Linked DNA regions of Homo sapiens: region 1 is linked to region 2. Evidence: promoter capture Hi-C in human tissues and cell types (Jung and others, 2019). All regions are on one chromosome and are shown on one strand. Each heading gives the region's core, a stretch centred on a gene start or on the middle of the fragment in contact. The rest is flanking DNA. Distances are from core to core; before and after follow the strand shown.

Region 1 (2,700 bases), core at 67-2,566, 940 kb after region 2:
AACCAGAAATAAAAATCATGGTATCGATTTTCAGTAACTCAGAAGGAAGCAGTTTCCCCTATGGACTAAAACTATCAGGCAAGGGAGTTGGAAAGAGTATCTCAAGTTTTCCATATTGGTTGAATGAGCCCCAAGACGTTCATAATATCCACAGGCATCTTTTGACAAAAATCTCATTTGTGCTTTCACAGTTTGTGCTAAGCACTATGGAGAATTTTGAAAATATGTTTCAAATTGTTCTGACATAAATATAAATATATTTGTATCTAATTTGTTGCTAGTACAGTGTTCTGCCTCACAGTTTCCTGCTCCTGGTATTCCCCTCCATTCGCTATGCATACACTTAATACCTACTGAGTCTAACATGTTTATTCTGTACCTAATTATTACAAAGTTGAGCAAGAACCATTTGTTGGTTTCCAATAATTTATACCATGGTAGAATAAATCAATAATATTGGAAGACATCTGTTTTAGCTAAGATAATCTTGCTGTTCTACAAAATAGTCTCCAAATCTCATTGGATTGACACAGTGAATTTTTATTTCTTGCTTCTGCTTTTTGTGGGGAGGCAGCCTGCCCTAGCCACTGGGTGCCTCAGGGACCTGGAATTCTACCATCCTGTGGTTCCATTATTTGCAACATGTGATTCCCAAGGTTGCCAGGCTCAGATGAATCAGGAGAAAGACCATGAAAGAGGATGGTATGTGTGAACTTTTATGAGACAGGCCGGGAAGTGCACATGTCACTTATACTCGTTTTCTTCTGGCTGGAACTCAGTTCTATGGCCACATCTAACTGCAAAGGAGGCTGGGAAACATAGCTCTGTTCCAAGGCATAAGGTAAAGTGCTGGTGGCTAATCTATCTTGGTTATATAGTATGTTAAGGGCTATCTGATTTACCCTCTATGCCATGGTTGAATTCTTAGAATAACATCTGTAATAACATATGCCATTGTTGAATTCTTAGAATAACATCTGTAATAACAAGTCCTTGAACCTCTCGTCAAACCTCCTTGATGAAGATTATACAGAAGCACTTCTGTTGTTTGATAGGGCTGTTGATTGGAAAGACCTTGCTTCTAAACAGTAGAAGTCTCCTTCCCTGCAACTATCATCCATGGATCCAAGATCTGCTTTGGGAATCCTACAACTTGAATTTTTGCTCCCTTCCATTATGAAGCCCTAAGGCAAGTGGCTTGGAGTAACCCACCAGAGAACCAGGGCCCTATTCATTCATTTTGGTATACCCATGCTTGGCATGATGGCTGGTCAATGGTGGAAGCTTAATAAATGTCTGCTAAACAAATTCATTAATCAATATTTTAGTGTTCTCATGCTCTTAAAAAAGACTTCTCTTGGGCTAAGCATGGTGGCTCATGCCTATAATCCTAGCACTTTGGGAGGCTGAGGAGGGCGGAGTCCCTGAGCTCAGGAGTTTGAGACCAGCCTGGGCAACATGGCGAAACACCGTCTCTACTAAAAATACAAAAAATTAGCCAGGCATGGTGATGTGTGCCTGTAATCCCAGCTCCACAGGAGGCTGAGGCACGAGAATCACTTGAACTCAGGAGGCGGAGGTTGCAGTGAGCCATGATTGTGCCACTGCACTCCAGCCTGGGTGACAGAGCAAGACTCTGTCACCAAAAAAAAAAAAAAAAAAAAAGGGACTTCTCTTTTCTTAAGTAAACATCCTGTTATTTCATTTCTATATGCTATATTTACCAGGTAGTTTTTATCTAGACTTCTCTTGGGTTTTCATGATCCATTTAAAGAATAGCTACTGAATTGACAGCATACTCTAGGTGCTATGTCACTCAGCACCAAAGCAGTTAGAAAAGAGACTAAACTTAAATTCTTACTTTGCATTTAGTAATTGTGTGACTTTGGTCAAGTTACTTAACGTGTGCTTCAGTTTCCCCGTTAGTCAGTTTTCTGGGAATAGTATCTATTGGGGGTTGTGGTTTAATTAAGTACAATTATGTATAAATTAAGTGGTTTCACAGGGCTGGACCCTTAGTGGGTGTCATTATAAGCTAGTATTTTTTTTATTATGTACTCTGTGCCCATTATTCCAGCCTTGGTCTGCATGAACCTTTAGGATCATGTTTAAATTTCTAGATGATTACTCTGTCAGTCATTTGTGGATGAATTAGAGTGAAGAGACAAGAGTTGAAAGAAACGAGTGTATGTCAGTTTTATTACTGTAGGAAAGGAGAAGGCAGAAATGAGAGATACTACTGAGGCAGAACTGTGGGGTTTGGTGTCTCTTCTCTGCCCACTGCAAAAATACATCTTTCAAATTCCTGGTTTTCCTAAAAGGTTCCTCCAGTTCTCCCAACTGGAAGTAATCCGTTCCTTCCTTCAAGGAACAGATTTCTATTGCGCCTCTTGTCTCTGATACTCTCAATGCTTATTAGTAATAGTTTTATCACTAGCTAGTATGTGTTGAGCACTGGTTTTGGTCTGGCACCATCTGTTAGGATTAGAATTCTCTTGTGTCTCTGCTTTTCACTAATCTGTTTGACTGCTTTTACTAAACATGCAATGCCTTGTAGTTCTAGTGATTATAGACATGATTCAGATTTCATCTGGTAGGGGATTCCCTCTATCATCAGCAGGAACTACAAAGTCAATGGAATCTCTGGTGAAGAAAACTTAACTTCCAGTACTAGTTTATTTCAGGAAAATTGAAATCAGG
Region 2 (2,700 bases), core at 17-2,516:
CCTCAGTCGAACTCTTTCTTCTGAGGAGTCAAGAATTGAGGTTGCTGCAGATCTGTAGGAATTCACTGCCTGTAACATACTTTGGGGCCGTGTCTCGGATATGGGCAGCTGCTAACATATTTTGGTGCCCTGTGACTCGAGTTAACTTCCACAGCTCACAAAGGCAGTAACATTTTCTAGGGAGTCACTAGAAGATATATGTAAAAAATCTCCTATATCTCCTAGTGGAAGATAGGGTTACTTCGTTAAGAATGTTTATTCAGGTCCACTGCAGCCTTCAATTCCAAGCCTTTGGTGATAAAGGCTATTTTCTCACCGTGGTAGGGAGAGGATGCCCATCCCAGAGAAATCTTTGTGGCCTGCTGCATCGAAGAGGCAGGTCAGCTTGCCCTTTCTGAAACTACCATTTCTCCAATGTTTTCCGCTCGAAATAATCAATATACCAATTAGGCATATTTTGGAATGGCACACCTTCACTCCTTCAACGTCTTGTCCTGGGTACTTACCGAGATGACCAAATTTGAGTAGGTGTACAGAGTCCTAAGTATATGGAGTTACTTCATTTGTCCCTCTGAAAGATTGCAAATCGGACTAGCAATTCCCAGGGGGAAAATTCTAAGCAGTCAAAAAAGGACTCACAACCCTATTGCCGAGGACTAAAAGTATCAGCCCAATACAAAACATAGAACTCAAATTAAAGGGGAAAAGACTATCATGAGAACAAACAGAAGAGGAATCGGGGCTCCCTTCCCGCTCTTTATTGCCCTTAACACACTGTCTACGCTCCTTGTGCTCTCTATCCCGTTTTTAAATGTCCCTACACTGGTAAAAGCTGTCGCCTCGCTTCATTTCACTACCGCTTCTCCCAGCGTTAGCAGCACCTCCAGGCTCACAGTGCACTTGGTAGGGAGGACAGGTATTTATCCACGCGGCCCAAAGCTGGGTTTCGGTCGCTGGATAACACCTATTATTGACCCTTTTGTAGAGATAGCGTTGCGTGTGTTTGTGTTGCGCGGACGCAGAAATCTGGGAAGGGCGCTGCACAGCGTTTTCCAGCGCTGGGGAGACGCCCCCGGCCCCTTAGTCGCACCTGCCTAGGTGTGCTCGCACGGTGGGACCAGGGTGGGCAACAGATTTCGCCCCGGGCAAGTTCGCACGCGGAGCTCCCAGCGCCGCGGGTCTCGGAGAAGACGCCTGCCTCCCCGCGCATTTCCGGTGACGTGCTGCCGCGCCGCCCAATCAGCGCCCGCAGCCCGCGGGCTTGGGATTCAAACTGCTGCTCCTCCGGCTGGCGGGGATCAGCGCTGGCGCGGCTGCGGCCGCTGCTGCCTACGCGCCATGGAGCATCGCATCGTGGGGCCCGGGCCGTACCGAGCTACCAGGCTGGTGAGTGAGTGTGCTGGGGCCTGGGCGGAGCACCCGGTGCCGCGAGCCCCCACTCAGCGCGCGGACAGAGTGCTTGTCAGTCTTCGCTTCCGCAGGCCAGCGGGGCTCGGGTGTGGAGCATTTCAGCTGGGACTACTGGGGCTGCCTTTTAGTGGACGAGCCTCAAAGAAAGGCTAACGGGGCCCAGAGCTCAGCCGGCCGGGGGTTAGTGCAGCTTTGTCCATGAGATGTTGACTGGGTTCTCGGCAGTAGATGGCGCCTCTCTGTTTAAAGACCCCAAGACCAGGCTGTTCCCTGCCTTTTGTCCTCTGGAATCTAACCGACCCGGTCGGTAACCTGAGGGGCCACCACGTACCCCGTAACGCTCAGCGTTCGCGGCAGTCCAGGCAGGGCGTGTCTCCTTCCTGAGTGACACCTGATGATACCTGACGGGGTATTCGAATAAACGGTGCCCAGAACAGAGGGGCATCGCGCTGGCCGCATTTCCGGCCCCTGGCGTTTCTGTTTCTGTCAGCACCGATCCAGATGAAGAGCTGGCCAGGACAGATGTTTTAGGAGAGTCTTTGCCGACTCTGAGTTCCTGTTTTTTTTTTTTTTTTTTTCTGGGAGAAAAGCTTTGGTATTGAGGTGTACTTGGTCTGCTTTGACTTGGAACAATAAAGGGTGACAGTTTGGTAATGTCTGTGGCAAGTTTTTAGAGGACTTTCTGTGGAAGTGTAATGGTAATTTGGGAGGACAGTAACTTGCTCCTTGGTCTGCCGACCTCTCTGGCCACATTTAACATGGGAATTACTCTCATAGTTCCATGCATTATAATGAATACACAGGAAAAGATGGGAACTAACATCCAAACTCTTACTCAGCTAGACTCATGGAAGAGGTGAGGATGCTGGGATACAGATAATGTAAATAGAGTTTCCTTTTCTTTCCAAAGCCAGCCACACACTATACCAGTAAGTCAAGCCAGAGCTGAGAAGGCCAGCTTCTGGAAGAGAAATCATAGTTGGGGCTGATGGGTCTTTACTTTTTAAATTTGGCTCATAGATCGCTTTGAGAATCTGATGAAGATTAAGGATCTTCTTCACAGAAAACTGCACATGGCACATACTCATGAAATTTTACATGATTTAAGGGGATGGATCGCTTGAGGTCAGGAGTTCGAGACCAGCCTGGCCAACACAGCAAAACCCCGTCTGTACTAAAAATACAAAAATTAGCTGGGCATGGTGGCATGCGCCTATAGTCTCAGCTACTCAGGAGGCTGAGGCAGGAGAATCTCTTGAACCTGGGAGGCAGAGGTTGCAGTGAGCTGAG

Evidence for each region. Contacts are between HindIII fragments. The study calls those that stand out against the background at their distance.
Region 1: a contact is called between a fragment that was not itself captured here and the fragment with the promoter of DEPDC1B in region 2, in 2 of the 25 tissues and cell types used here (H1 embryonic stem cells and hippocampus).

Annotation. Positions count from the first base shown.
Region 1 is chr5:59,763,617-59,766,316 of GRCh38, reverse strand. All of the region lies in intron 1 of PDE4D (phosphodiesterase 4D), which reads left to right. Among named protein-coding and RNA genes, the nearest start is that of MIR582, 61 kb to the right of the region's middle. The HindIII fragment of the contact is 9,367 bases long and covers 1-2,700 here.
Region 2 is chr5:60,698,732-60,701,431 of GRCh38, reverse strand. It overlaps DEPDC1B (DEP domain containing 1B), which reads left to right and starts at 1,266. Exons shown (of 11, transcript NM_018369.3): 1 at 1,266-1,386. The coding sequence starts at 1,339. LOC124900982 (a long non-coding RNA gene) reads right to left here and starts at 1,192. Exons shown (of 2, transcript XR_007058779.1): 1 at 1,091-1,192. The HindIII fragment of the contact is 4,370 bases long and covers 1-2,700 here.